Linked DNA regions of Homo sapiens: region 2 is linked to region 1. Evidence: promoter capture Hi-C in human tissues and cell types (Jung and others, 2019). All regions are on one chromosome and are shown on one strand. The core of a region is centred on a gene start or on the middle of the fragment in contact, and the rest is flanking DNA. Distances in the headings are between cores, read along the strand shown.

Region 1 (7,618 bases), core at 2,825-5,324:
CTGAATTTTGTTTTGTTTTGTTTTGTTTTGAGACAGAGTTTCACTCATTGCCCAGACTGGAGAGCAATGGCATGATCTTGGCTCACCGCAACCTCTGCCTCCCAGGTTCAAGCGATTCTCCTGCCTCAGCCTCTCAAGTAGCTGGGATTACAGGCATGTGCCACCACTCCCGGATAATTTTGCATTTGTATATTTATTTTTATTTATTTATTTATTTTTTGAGATGTAGTTTCACTCGTCGCCCAGGCTGCACAGCAATGGTGCGATCTGGGCTCACCGCAACCTCTGCCTCCTGGGTTCAAGCGATTCTCCTGCCTCAGCCTCCCAAGTAGCTGGGATTACAGGTATGCACCACCAAGCCCAGCTAATTTTGTGTTTTTAGTAGAGATGGGATTTCTCCACGTTGCTCAGGTTGGTCTCGAACGTCCAATCTCAGGTGATCTGCCCGCCTCAGCCTCCCAAAGTGCTGGGATTATAGGCGTGAGCCACCATGCCTGGCCTAATTTTGTATTTTTAGTAGAGACGGAGCTTCTCCATGTTGGTCACCTGCTCTTGAACTCCCAACCTCAGGTGATCTGCCCGCCTCAGACTCCCAAAGTGGGATTACAGGCGTGAGCCACCGCGCCCAGCCCTTCCTGGATGTTTTTCCTGCTCACTGTTCTGCTTCCAAATCCTTCTCAAGGTTGCTATTATACTAACCTTTCCAAAACATCATTTTTACCATGTTGTTTCTTTATTTCTTTGGAATCTCTTATTCTTGTATTTGTCAGGTCCTTCTATATCATCATTTTTACCATTTTTTTAATAATTTCTTTAGAATTTATTATTCTTGTATTTGTCAGGGCCTTCCATATCAAACCAAGGAAGTCCCTCTCTGGGCAACAGAGGTGACACGTAAGTCTGAGGGGTTTATGGGACACAATAGAAATGCCCAGAGGCCACCATACCTTTACATCCAAAATCCCTCATATTGTCCTTCAGATCTCCCATAGTCAGGCATAACCTCCCCTAGTTAGTAGAGAGAGAGAAATGGATCAAAGCTTCTGACTAGACCAGGTACAGTGGCTCACACCTATAATCCCAGCACTTCAGGAGGCCAAGGCCGGAGGATCACTTGAGGCCACGAGTTTGAGACCAGCCTGCCCAACATGGAGAAACCCCATCTCTACTAAAAATACAAAAATTAGCCAGGCATGGTGGTGGGCACCTATAATCCCAGCTACTCAGGAGGCTGAGGCAAAAGAATTGCTTGAACTCGGGAGATGGAAGTTGCCATGAGCCAAGATCCTGCCACTGTACTCCAGCCTGGGTGACAGAGGGAGAGTCTTGTCTCAAAAAAAAAAAAAAAAAAAATTCTGACTAATACCTTGTTGTGATTTTTTTTTTCTTTTGAGACAGTGTCTCATTCTGTTGCCCAGAATGGAGTGCAAAGGCTCACTGCAGCCTCAAACTCCTAGGTTCAACCGATCCTCCAGCCTCAGCCGCCTGAGTAGCTGGGATTACAGATGTGCACCACCATGCCCAGCTAATTTTTGTATTTTTTATAGACATGAGGTCTTGCCATGTTGCCAAGGCTGCCTTTTTGTGATTTTATATACACTTCATACCTCATACCTGTCTCAACAGGATATCAGCCATCCAAACCAGCAAGAACATTAAAGTCCTTTGCAGGTGGTTTTTGTTTTGTTTTGTTTTGTTTTGTTTTGTTTTGTTTTGTTTTTGGGAAGGAGTCTCACTCTGTCACCCAGGCTGGAGTGCAATGGCACAATCTCAGCTCACTGCAACCTCCGCCCTGTGGGTTCAAGCGATTCTCCTGCCTCAGCCTCCCAATTAGCTGGGATTACAGGCACCTGCCACCACATGCAGCCAATTTTTTTTTTTTGTATTTTTAGTAGAGATGGGATTTCACCATGTTGGCCAGGCTGGTCTCGAACTCCTGACCTCAGGTGATCCACCTGCCTCAGCCTCCCAAAGTGCTGGGATTAACAGGCATGAGCCCACCGTGACCGGCCTAGGTTGTCTTATTTTATAATATGATCCCCACTTGCAAGCCACACTCACCTTCACTCCTGCCTTCCCATCAGACTGTCTGGGTCTCCCTACTCCTTCAGTCTGAACTCACCCAGCACTTGAATGCCTGTTCTAACGCACCACCTTCCATAGAGCCTTTTCATGACCCACTCTGAAGCGCTGCAGCTTTTGCCTTGTCAGGACACACAGCCCACAGCTCAGTTACACTATCTTGGACTTCTTTTTTTTCTTCTTCTCCTTTTTTTTTTTTTTTTTTAACCTTGGAACTCTGAAAGTACCTTAAGGTCAGGCTTTGATTGGAGCCCACCCAGCTCACTAAGGCCAAAAACACAGCAGTCAGCAATTTGTGGTTTTGGTTTAAGCTAAAAAGAGGCTTTCTGGTTGCTAAATATGCCAGTGAGCATTTCAGTTATTTGCACTTCAGTGCAGAGGTCATCCAGTCCTTCTTGGGAGTGACATCAAGGACAAAGGTGATATGGAGGTAGGAGCAATATTTGTGTGTGTGTGAATATATATATATATATATATATTTTTTTTTTTTTTTTTTTTAAGGGCGGCCCCAGAGGCCTAGAACTAATAAGATATCTGCCTATATGGACCAAGAGCAGGAAGAAAGGCCAGACAATCGTCCCTCAGTAGACAGTGCCGCTTGGAATGACCACAGTCTGGGAAGCACTAACACATGGCATTTACCACCAGCTAAATAAACATTTGATTTCATGTTGCACAATGACCTAGCCAGTCCAGCTACTTTAACCCTGGTCTTCCTATAGAATGACCCCAGTATGAGCTCTACTTCAGGGCAGCTCCTCTCTTGGATGAAAGGCAGCAAAGAGCTTGCTGCCCAAGCTGGCCAAGAGGAAGTGCCCACAAAACTATTTCGCTGTGGAAGAAATCTGACCCAACATCCTAACAAACCCCCTCACATGGGCTTCCAATCTTTTAAAACTCATGTCTGCTCCCCACAGGCCCACCCTGGCAATGACTTGTCAATTTCCTTCACGTCTACGTCTAGAAAAAAAGTGAGAAAACTGGATGCAGCTTCGAGTGCTAAGCCATGGGGGATGGACTTTGGTCCCCAAGCAAAGCATTAATGAAGGTGTTGCAAGGGGAATAGTTGAGATATGATATGAGGAAGACCAGAGAACAATTCCTGATGAACGTCCTCCCTCCCAAGCCTCAGTCTGACCATAGCTTCCTCATCTGGGAGTTGTGAGAATGAGGCTGGCCTTGTGCAAAGCTGATCACCTTGCTTTCCGTGGAAGGGGCTCGGTCACTGAGGTCATCATTGCTTCTCACAGGGATGCCTCTGCCCAGGAGGCTGAGCAGGCCACCGTTGGGTGACAGGCCGAAGAGTGTCAAGTATCTCCCCGGGCCGGGAAAGGTGCGAAAGAGATGGGTACTCTTGCCCCAGGGGAATGTATCAAAGGACACCTCCAGAACAACCGTACCGCTCTGTCTTTAGTTGTCTTCCTGGGGCAGGCTTTACAGGGGACCTGTTTCAACCTTAACGATAATATTAGTGTTGGCTGAAACCAAAACTATGGAGAGACGTTTATTCCTTCCCATCCCTAAAGAAGTGGCGCAGGGTCAGAAGAGACTGCGGGACAGGGAACTTTACATCAGAGCTCTTGACAGGCAGTTAGAGGCTGCTCACTTTGCGCCGCCGCCTGGCTCTTTGGGGCGCAAGGTACAGCTTCCTGCCCACCCCTGAAAGAGAGATTCCCTAGACTTCTCACGGAAGCTCACACATGCCCCTCTTCTGCCCAGCGTCCGCGCCTCGCGGGGGACCATGCTTTCCGCGCCCCGCCCGGGCCTCCTCCCCAAAGCCTGCGACCCAGCCTCCCGCACCTTGACCGTGTCCAGAGGGTGACCGACGAACACCAGGCACACGCCGCCAAAGCCGCCGGCCAGCAGGTTCTTGAGCGGGCTGATGGGTTTTGGCTGGTCGGCCATGGTCAGTCCGTCTGTCACTCCGTCTGTCAGTTCTCGGGCCGTCCTGGCTTCTCAGCCCCAGCTGCAGTGCCGGCGCCGCCGACCTTTCACCCACTTTTGGGTGGGCGGGGCACGAGCCCGGGGCAGGTCGGGAGGAGGGCCCAGTTGGCACGGTAGGGCTTCCGCCCGGGGCTGCTTCCGGCCTCGGCCCCGCTTCGATGGGCGTGGCAGAGCGCAAAGCCGCATGGGCGGGGTTTGGGAGTGTGGGCCAGCGGGCCTATTCCTCCAGGAAGCCTTCCCAGACTTCCATGTTTCCTCTGAGCTCCCATTCATCCACTCACTCCAGAGAGATCAATTGCGCCCTGCCATATGCCAGGCGTCCTTCTAGGTGCTGGAGGCACCCCTGGTAGTACAACACACAGGTCCCTGTCCTCCTGGAATTTACAGACCATAACAAAGATAAATAACTAAAAAATGCATAGTGTATCAAGTAGTAATAAGTACTACGGAGAAAAATCCAGGAAGAGAGTTAGAGGGTGTGTGGGACAAGTGATTTGCAATTTTAGTTCGTTGAATAAGGGAGGGTTTAACTGAAAAGGTGACAGGATTCAAGACCTGAGAAGATGAGAGAGGGAGTTCTGTTCACACATAACAGGGTCAAGGGTGAGGAACCTTCCACCCAGAAGAAAAAGAAAATGCAAAAGCCTTGAGATGGTCTGTGCCTGACATGTTTGAGAAACCACAGGAAGAGGGAGGGTAGTAGCTGATGAGGCGACAGAGGTTTTGGAGGCACTAGAAGACAGGTTTGGGCCTGGTGTTATGGCTCATGTCTGTAATCCCAGCTCTTTGGGAGGCCAAGGCGAGAGGATTGCTTAAACCCAGGAGTTTGAGACCAGCCTGACTTATATAGCGAGACTCTTGTCTCTAAAAAAAAAAAGTTAGGCCGGGCCCAGTGGCTCACACCTGTAATCCCAGCACTTTGGGAGGCCAAGGCAGGCATATCAACTGAGGTCAGGAGTTTGAGACCAGCCTGACCAACATGGAGAAACCCCGTCTCTACTAAAAATACAAAATTAGCGGGGCATGGTGGCGCATGCCTGTAATCCCAGCTACTTGGGAGGCTGAAGCAGGAGAATCACTTGAACTTGGGAGGCAGAGATTGCGGTGAGCCCAGATCGTGCCATTGCACTCCAGCCTGGGCAAAAAGAGCGAAACACTGTCTCTACAAAAAAAAAAAAAAAAAAAAAAAAAAAAAGTTAAAGGCCCGACGCAGTGGCTCATGCCTATAATCCCAGCACTTTGGAAGGCCAAGGCAGGTGGATCACCTGAGGTCAGGAGTTCAAGACCAGCCTGGCCAACATGGTCAAACCCCGTCTCTACTAAAAATACAAAAACTTGCCAGCCGTAATGGCAGACGCCTATGCCTGTGATCCCAGCTACTCGAGAGTCTAAGGCAGGAGAATCGCTTGAGCCCAGGAGGCGGAGCTTGCAGTGAACCGAGATCTTGCCACTGTCTCTCCTCTGAAGGACGTAGAAGTCATTGCAGGGTACTGAGTGGGGAGCGACATAGTCTGACATCGTTATCAGGATCCCCCTTTGATTGCTGGGTGAAAATAGACTCCAGGGGGCAAGAAGAAACAAGGAGCCTTAAGGAGGCTAAAAGCCATGGCCAGAGATGTTGACTTGCGCCAGGGCATAACAGAGGAGGTAGTAAGAAGTGGTCAGATTCGGCCGGGCGTGGTGGCTCACGCCTGTAATCCCAGCACTTTGGGAGGCCGAGGCGGGTGGATCTCAAGGTCAGGAAATCGAGACCATCCTGGCTAACATGGTGAAACCCCGTCTCTACTAAAAATACAAACAAAAAAATTAGCCGGGCATCATGGCGGGCATCGTGGCGGGCATCTGTAGTTCCAGCTACTCGGGAGGCTGAGGCAGGAGAATGGCGTGAACCTGGGAGGCGGAGGTTGCAGTGAGCTGAGATCGTGCCACTGCACTCCAGCCTGGGTGACTGAGCAAGACTCCGTCTCAAAAAAAAAAAAAAAAAAAAAAAAGAGGTGGCCAGATTCTGGATATAGTCTAAAGAAAAAAAAATTTTAAGTTGTCAATTAATAGGATATAAAGCAGCTAGGCACAGTGGTTCACGCCTGTAATCCCAGCACTTTGGGAGACCGAGGCATACAGATCATGAGGTCAGGAGATCGAGACCATCCTGGGTAACACAGTGAAACCCCTTCTCTACTAAAAACACAAAAAATTAGCCAGGTGTGATGGCACAGTGCTTGCAGTCCCACCTACTCAGGAGGCTAAGGCAGGAGAATCGCGTGAACCCGGGAGGTGGATTTTGCAGTTAGCCAAGATCACGCCACTGCACTCCAGCCTGGCAACAGAGTGAGACTCTTTCTCAAAAAAAAATAAAATAAATTAAAATAAATAAATAAATAAAAAGGATATAAAAAGGATATAAAGGGTGTCAAAGAAGATTTAAGATTATGGGGCCGGGGCTGGGCGCAGTGGTTCACGCCTGTAATCCCAGCACTTTGGGAGGCCGAGGTGGGCGGATCATGAGGTCAGGAGATCGAGACTATCCTGGCTAACACGGTGAAACCCCATCTCTACTAAAAATACAAAAACTTAGCCGGGCGTGGTGGCAGTAGCCTGTAGTCCCAGCTATTCAGGAGGCTGAGGCAGGAGAATGGCAAGAACCCAGGAGGTGGAGCTTGTAGGGAGCCGAGATCGCGCCACTGCACTCCAGCCTGGGCAACAGAGTGAGACTCCGTCTCAAAAAAAAAAAAAAAAGAAAAGAAAAAAAAAGAATTATGGGCCGGGCACAGTGGCTCACACCTGTAATCCCAACATTTTGGGAAGCCCAGGCAGGCGGATCATGAGGTCAAAGTTCGAGACCAGCCTGGCCACCATGGTGAAATGCTCTCTCTACTAAAAATACAAAAATTAGCTAGGCGTGCTGGCATGTACCTATAATCCCAACTGCTCAGGAGGCTGAGGCAGGAGAATCGTTTGAACCCAGGAGGCAGAAGTTGCAGTGAGCCGAGACCACGCCATTGCACTCCACCCTGGGTGACAGAGCAAAACTCCGTCTCAAAAAAAAAAAAACCACAAAAAAACAACTATATGCATTGGAGCAAATTTTTAGAAAGGGATTCATAAATGCCTTCACACAGGAAAAAATAGGCAATCAAGCATTCTCATTCGAATGAGGGGCCAGGCGCAGTGGCTCACACCTGTAATCCCAGCACTTTGGGAGGCCAAGGTGAGTGGATCGTGAGGTCGGGAGATCAAGACCATCCTGGCCAACATAATGAAACCCCATCTCTACTAAAAATACAAAAATTAGCTGGGCATGGTGGCATGTGCCTGTAATCCCAATACTAGGGAGGCTGAGGCAACAGAATCACTTGAACCAGGGAGTGGGAGGTGGCAGTGAGCTGAGATGGCACCACTGCACTCCAGCCTGGCCACAGAGCAAGACTCTGTCTCAATAATCATCATCATCATCATCAGGGCCAGGCACCATGGCTCATGCCTATAATCCCAGAAATTTGTGAGGTCGAGAGAGGCAGATCATTTGAGGTCGGGAGTTCAAGACCAGCCTGACCAACATGGTGAAACCCCATCTCTACTAAAAATACAAAAA
Region 2 (7,618 bases), core at 1,544-4,043, 170 kb before region 1:
CGGTAAGGGGTGTGAAGGTTTTGCTGAATATCAAGAGTCTGAGAAACTGCTTGGGTGATATGACTAATAAAGGCCAGTCTGTTATCGGACTGTATAGAGATGGAAAGGCCAAACTGAGGAATTATGTCTGACAGAAGGGAAGAAATGACCGCGGTGGCCTTTTCAGACCCTGTGGGAAAGGCCTCTACCCATCCAGTGAAAGTGTCTACCCAGACCAAGAGGTATTTTAGTTTTTTGACTCAGGGCATGTGAGTAAGTCAATTTGCCAGTCCTGGGCAGGGGCAAATCCCTGAGCTTGATGTGTAGGGAAGGGAGGGGGCCTGAACAATCCCTGAGGAGTAGTAGAACAGGAGATAGAACACTGAGAAGTGACTTTTTTGAGGATAGATTTCCACAATGGAAACAAAATAAGAGGTTTTAAGAGACGGGCTAGGGCCGGGCGTGGTGGCTCACACCTGTAATCCCAGCACTTTGGGAGGCCGAGGTGGGCAGATCACAAGGTCAGGAGATTGAGACCGTCCTGGCTAACATGGTGAAACCCCATCTCTACTAAAAACACAAAAAAATTAGCTGAGCGTGGTGGTGGGTGCCTGTACTCCCAGCTACTGGGGAGGCAGAGGCGGGAGAATGGCGTGAACCCGGGAGGCGGAGCTTGCAGTGAGCCAAGATCGTGTCACTGCACTCCAGCCTAGCCAACAGAGCGAGACTCTGTCTCAAAAACAAAAACAAAAACAAAAGAGATGGGCTAGCGGCTTGTAACCTACATTAAAGAGGTTATGAAATGATGACAGAATAGAATGGGCCTGTGAGGCTGGAAGGAGATATTCTTCTTGGTCTAAGAACCACTTGCCTTGTGTGGGAAGAGACTGACAGGTGGAAGTTTTAGTGGGAGAGTAGGTGGGAGTGACTGATAAGAGGAAGAAAAACTGGCCACGAAGGACAGAAGTTAGAATGCTAGCTGCTTGTTTAGCTGTCTTATCAGCATAACTGTTGCCTTGAGCGATGGGATCTGATGCCTTTTGATGGCCCTTGCAGTGAATGACTCTTTGGAAGTAAAGCAGCCTTGAGAAGAGTTTTTATTAAAGAGGCGTTAATGATGGAGGACCCTTGCGTAGTGAGGAAACCTCTTTCAGCCCATATAACAGCAATGGTGGTGCAGGATATGGAAGGCATATTTAGAGTCAGTATAAATATTGACGTGTAGTCCTTTTGCAAGAGTGAGGGCCCGAGTTAAGGCAATGAGTTCAGATTGCTGAGAGGTAGTGGAGCTGGGCAGAGTGGTAGCCTCAATGATAGATGTGGAAGATACTATAGCATAGCCTGCCTTTGCTGGTGAGTGGCAATTAGGCCTGGTGGAACTGCCATCAATAAACCGAGTATGATCAGGGTGAGGAACAGGAAAGAAGGAAATATGGGTAAATGGAGTGAATGTCAGGTGGATCAGAGAGATACAGTCATGGGGGTCGGAGTGGTATCCGGAATAATGTGGGAGGCCAGATTGAAGTCCAGACCAGGAACAATGGTAATTGTGGGAGACTCAACAAAGAGTGAGTATAGCTGAAGGAGCCAGGGAGCAGAAAGTATATGCGTCAGGTGTGAGGAAGAAAATAGATTTTGGAAGTTATGAGAACTGTAGAGAGTGAGTTGACCATAGTTTGTGAATTTGAGGGCCTGTAAAACTATTAGGGTGGTGGCAGCCACCGCACAGAGGCATGATGGCCAGCTTAAAATAGTAAGGTCAATTTGTTTGGACAAAAAGCCCACAGGGTGCAGTCCCAGTCCTTGTGTAAGAATTTTGACTGCACAGCCCTGCACTTCAGCTGTGTGTAATGAAAAGGGTTGGGATGGGTCAGGCAGAGCTAGTGTGGGAGCAGTCTCTAGAGCTGTCTTTAAGGAATGGAAACAGGAGTGGGGAAAGGATTTAGGATCTATGGGGTCAGCTAGGTTTTTCTTTGTGAGTTTATATAATGGTTTTGTTAGGATGGCAAAACCACGTATCCAAAGGTGAAAGTATCCAACCATGCCCAGAAAGGAAAAAAGTTGTTGTTTTATAGAAGGGGTTGGGGTTTGGGAGATTAGCCAGACATAATCACCAGACATAAACACCATGTGTGTTTTTATGAAAAATTATGCCAAGATAGGTAATTGGGTGAGGAAGAAATTTGGGCTTGACTGAAGTAATGGGGGCTGTCCCTGAAGCCTTGCGGCAGTATAGCCCAGGTAAGTTGCTGAGGCTGATGGGTGTCAGGGTCAGTCCAGGTAAAAGCAAAGAGGGCCTGGGACGAGGGGTGCAGGGGAATAGTGAAAAAGTGTTTCTAAGATCAAGAACGGAATAGTGCGTTGTGGAGGAAGGTATTGAGGACAAAAGAATGTATGGGTTGGGCACCACAGCGTGGATAGGCAAAACAATTTTGTTGATAAGGTGCAGATCCTGAGCTAACCTGTAAGACTTGTCTGGTTTTTGGACAGGTAAAATGGGGGAATTGTAAGGAGAGTTTATAGGCTTTAGAAGCCCATGCTGTAGCAGGTGAGTGATAACAGGCTTTAACTTTTTTAAAGCCTGCTGTGAGATGGGATATTGGCATTGAGTGGGGTAAGGGTGATTAGGTTTTAATGGGATCATAAGGGGTGCATGATTGGTCACCAAGGTAGGAGTAGAGGTATCTTATACTTGTGGATTAAGGTAAGGAGACACAAGGGGAGGATGTGAAGGAGGCTTTGAATTGGGGAAAAGGGCAGCAATGAGGTGTGGCTCTAGCCCAGGAATAGTCAGGGAAGTAGATAATTTAGTTAGAATGTCTTGACATAATAAGGAAAGTGGGCAGGTGGAAATAAATAAAAAGGAGTGCATAAAAGAATGTTGTCCACGTTGGCACCAGAGTGGGGGAGTTTAAGGGGTTTTGAAGCTTGGCCATCAATACCCACAACAGTTATGGGGGCAAGGGAAACAGGCCCTTGAGAAGAAGGTAACGTGGAGTGGGTAGCCCTTGTATCGATTAAACAGGGGATGGACTTAGCCTTCACTGTGAGAGTTACCCGAAGCTCGGCATCCGTGATGGTCCAGGGGGCTTCTGAAGTGATCAGGCAGCATCAGTTTTCAGCCGCTAAGCCGAGCAGATCTGGGAAGGAGTCAGTCAGAGAGCCTTGGCCCAGAGCTTTAGGGACTCTAGGAGTGGCTGCCAGGCAAGATGGGCAGTCTGATTTCCAGTTGGTCCCTGCACAGATGGGACACGGCTTGGGAGTAATCCCAGGCTGTGGGCACTCCTTGGCCCAGTGGCCAGATTTCTGGCATTTGAAGCAAGATCCTGATGGAGGAGGTCCTGTAGGAATGCCTGACCACTGTGGTTTAGGCATTTTGAAGTTCTTATGTGCTGGAGGTGCGGCTGGATTTTGTCTCACAGCAGAGGCAAGTAATCGTAACTCAGAAATGTGTTGCCGTCTGGCTGCCTGCTCTCTATTACTGTACACCTTGAAGGTGAGATTGATTAATTCCTGTTGTGGGGTTTGAGGGCCAGATTCCAATTTTTGAAGCTTTTTTTTTTTTTTTTTTTCATGTCAGGAGCTGACTGGGTGATAAAATGTATATTGAGAATGAGACGGCCTTCTGACCCTTCAGGGTCTAGGGCTGTAAAGTGTCTCAGGGTTGCTGCCAAATGAGCCATGAACTGGGCTGGGTTTTCGTCTTTACCTTGGGTAGGTTTTTTTTTTAAGTTTATCGTAATTAACAGCTTTGTATGCTGCCTTTTTAAGCCCTTCAACTAGGCAGGAAACCATGTAATCTTGCCTAGCTATACCTGGGGAATCTGCCTGATAGTTTCATTGGGGATCCGCTTAGAGAACTGCTCTACTGCCTTCTTGGAGGTCTGGCTCATGACACCAGCAGTTGTCAGCATGAGACTGGGCTAGAGAAAAAACTCTTTCCTGTTCATGTGGGGAGAGGGTAGAAGTTAGGATGACATTTAAGTCACTCCAGGTTAAATTGTACGACAGAGTTAGATATCGGAATTCCTGTATATATTTAGTGAGGTCTGATGAGAAAGAGCCTAAAAGCTGGCTGATTTGGGAAAGGTCTGATAGAGAAAAAGGCACATGTACCCTGACTATGCCTTCAGCTCCAGCCACCTCTCTAAGAGGAAATTGTTGGGCAGGTGGGGAAGAGCTAGTCACAGAATGAAACTGTAAGCCAGACCAGGTATCAGGAGGGGAGGTGATAGAAGGGTTGTAGGGTGGAGGAGCAGAGGCTGAGGAAGAATTTGAGCCTGATTCAGACTGGCGGAGAGCGACCTGAAGAGGAGAAGTCTGGGGAGGAGGGGAGAGGTCAGATGGGTAGGTAGAAAAGAAAGATTGAAAGGACTCAAGAGCTTGGGGTGGAGACTGAAGGAACAGACAGGAGAAAAAGAAGAAAGATTTGGGACGAGTCACATTGGGAGCAGAGACCAGGGAGGGAACAAAGTGTGAAAAATGCCTGGATGTAAGGCACCTCAGACCATTTGCCCATTTTTTGACAAAAATTATCTAGATCTTGTAGGATGGAGAAATCAAAAGTGCCGTGGTTTTTTTTTTTTTTTTTTTTTTTTTTTTTTTTTTTTTTTTTGCCATTTAGAGCCATTATCAAGTTTGTATTTGGGCCAAGCCATGTTGCAGAAGAAAATAAGACACTTAGGTTTTAGGTCAGGCGAGAGTTGAAGAGGTTTTAAGTTCTTGAGAACACAGGCTAAGGGGGAAGAAGGAGGAATGGAGGGTGGAAGGTTGCCCATAGTGAAGGAGGCAAGCCTAGAGAAAAGAGAGGGTAGAGACACTTCGGGGGGTGGGGGGGTGGTACTTGCCACCCAGAGGAGGTGGTACTTGCCACCAAGGTGAAGGATCAAGGCAGGCATCCCCGTGGTGATCAGACACCTCTGAAACGTGGGTGAATAATCAGGCAGGCATCCCCGCTGTGATTAGACACCTAGACAACAAGGGAAGACTGTCTTCCCGAGTCCTTGACCAGTGCCGGAGTTTTGGGTTCACAGATAAAACACATCTCCTCTGTTTCTACCAGAAAAGGAAATGAACTGAAATTGAGGGAAGGGAGAGATTGAAGGGTAGCGCAGAAATTGAAAGGAGAAAGAAGTTGAGGGATAGCGAGAGAGGTTGGAGAAGAGGGTAAAAAGAGTCTGCTTACCCGATTTAAAATCGGTGAGATGTTCCTTGGGCTGGTTGGTTTGAGGACTGGAGGTCGTAGGTGGATCCTTCTCATGGAGCAAAGAGCAGGAGGACAGGGGATTGATCTCCCAAGGGAGGTACCCTGATCCGAGTCACGGCACCAAAATGTCACACGTGTCCATGTGAAGAGACCACCAAAAGGCTTTGTGTGAGCAACAAGGCTATTTATTCACTTGGGTGCAAGTGGACTGAGTCTGAGAAAGGAGTCAGCAAAGGGAGTTAGGGATGGGGCAGTTTTATAGGACTGGGGTAAGCAGTGGAAAGTTACAATTAAAGGGGGTTTTTCTCTTGCGGGCAGGGGTGGGGATCACAAAGTGCATGGTGGGGAGATCATAAGTCTCATTGTCCAGAAGAATGTCACGAGGTCGATCTATCGATCAGTTGGGACAGGGCAGAAACAAGTCATAATGGAATGTCATAAGGTTGGTTAATCAGTTAAGACAGAAGCTGGAGGCTGGGTGCGGTGGCTCACACCTGTAATCCCAGCACTTTGGGAGGCCGAGGTGGGCAGATCACGAGGTCAGGAGATCGAGACCATCCTGGCTAACATGGTGAAACCCTGTCTCTACTAAAAATGCAAAAAATTTGCCAGGTGTGGTGACGGGCGCCTGTAGTCCCAGCTACTCAGGAGGCTGAGGCAGGAGAATGGCGTAAACCCAGGAGGTGGAGCTTGCAGTGAGCCAAGATCACGTCACTGCACTCCAGCTTGGGCGACAGAACAAGACTCTGTCTCATTTAAAAAAAAAAAAAAAAGAAAAGAAAGACAGGAGCTGGCTGTTTCACTTCTTTTGTACTTTTTGGTTGCCTCAGGCCATCTGGATGTATACCTGTAGGCTTGGGCTGAGAGGCCTGACACCCAGGAGATGGAGGTTGCAGTGAGCTGAGATCATGCCACTGCACTCCAGCCTGGGTGACAGAGTGAGACACTGTCTCAAAAAAAAAAAAAAAAAAAAAGAGAAGAGTAACAGGGCCGGGTGCAGGGGCTCACGCCTGTAACCCCAGCACTTTGGGAGGCTGAGGCGGCCAGATCACCTGAGGTCGGGAGTTCGCAACCAGCCTGACCAACATGGAGAAACCCCATTTCTACTAAAAATACAAAATTAGCCAGGTATGGTGGTGCATGCCTGTAGTCCCAGCTACTCAGGAGGCTGAGGCAGGAGAATCGCTTGAACCCGGTTGCAGTGACCCGAGATCATGCCATTGCACTTCAGCCTGGACAACAAGAGCAAAACTCCGTCTCAAAAAAAAAAAAAAAAAGGCCAGGCTTGGTGGCTCATGCCTGTAATCCCAGTAATCCCAGTATTCCCAGCACTTTCGGACGCCGAGGTGGGCAGATCACGAGGTCAGGAGATCAAGACCATCCTGGCTAACACGGTGAAATCCTGTCTCTACTAAAAATACAAAAAAAAAAAAAAATTAGCCGGGTGTGGTGGCGCGCACCTTTAATCCCAGCTACTCGGGAGGCTGAGGCAGGAGAATTGCTTGAACTTGGGAGGAGGAGGTTGCAGTGAGCCAAGATCACACCACTGCACTCCAGCCTGGGCGACAGAGCGAGACTCTGTCTTAAAAAACAAAAGAATAACAGTTGCCAGGCATTTTGGGAGGCCAAGGCGGGTGGATCACTAGGCCTGGAGTGTGAGTGCAGCCTGGCCAACATGGCAAAACCCTGGCTCTACTAAAAAATACAGCTTGGCATGGTGGCTCACGCCTGTAATCCCAACTCTTAGGGAGGCAGAGGCGGGAGGATAGCTTGAGCCCTGGGGTTCAAGACTTGCCTGGGCAATATAGCGAGACACCATTCTCCACAAAAAGAGGGAAAAAAACTGTAAAAATTACAAAAATTGGCTGGGCACAGTGGCTCACGCCTGTATTCCCAGCACTTTGGGAGGCCAAGGCAGGTGGATCATGAGGTCAGGAGTTCAAGACCAGCCTGGTCAACATAGTGAAACCCTGTCTCTACTAAAAATACAAAAAATTAGCCAGGCATGGTGGCAGGCACTTGTAATCCCAGCTACTCGGGAGGCTGCAGCAGGAGAATTGCTTGAATCCAGGGGACAGAGGTTGCATTGAGTGGAGATCGCGCCACTGCACTCCAGCCTGGGTGACAGTGCAAGACTCCCTCTCAAAAAAAAAAAAAAATAGCTTTGTGGTGGCACATGCCTGTAATCTCAGCTACTGGGCTGAGGCACAAGAATTGCTTGAACCCGGGAGGCAGAGGTTGCAGTGAGCCAAGATCATGCCTCTAGACTCCAGCCTGGGTGACAGAGCAAGACTATCTTTCTCTCTCTCTCTCTCTATATATATATGTATATATGACACACATATATATATGACATAATATATAAGTTGCTTTATTACCAACAGACTAGCAAAAATCAAAAAGAGCTGCACCAGGCTGGGCGTGGTAGCTTAC

Evidence for each region. The method cuts DNA at HindIII sites, captures the fragments that hold promoters and counts their contacts. A contact is called where the count stands out against the background at its distance.
Region 2: a fragment that was not itself captured here is called in contact with the fragment with the promoter of SLC25A20 in region 1 in 1 of the 25 tissues and cell types used here (dorsolateral prefrontal cortex).

Annotation. Positions count from the first base shown.
Region 1 is chr3:48,894,808-48,902,425 of GRCh38, forward strand. SLC25A20 (solute carrier family 25 member 20) reads right to left here and starts at 4,075. Exons shown (of 9, transcript NM_000387.6): 1 at 3,883-4,075. The coding sequence starts at 3,987. RefSeq lists an enhancer at 2,996-3,045 and a silencer at 3,626-3,815. The HindIII fragment of the contact is 14,411 bases long and covers 1-7,618 here.
Region 2 is chr3:48,724,491-48,732,108 of GRCh38, forward strand. No RefSeq gene overlaps it. Among named protein-coding and RNA genes, the nearest start is that of IP6K2, 11 kb to the left of the region's middle. The HindIII fragment of the contact is 6,623 bases long and covers 1-6,105 here.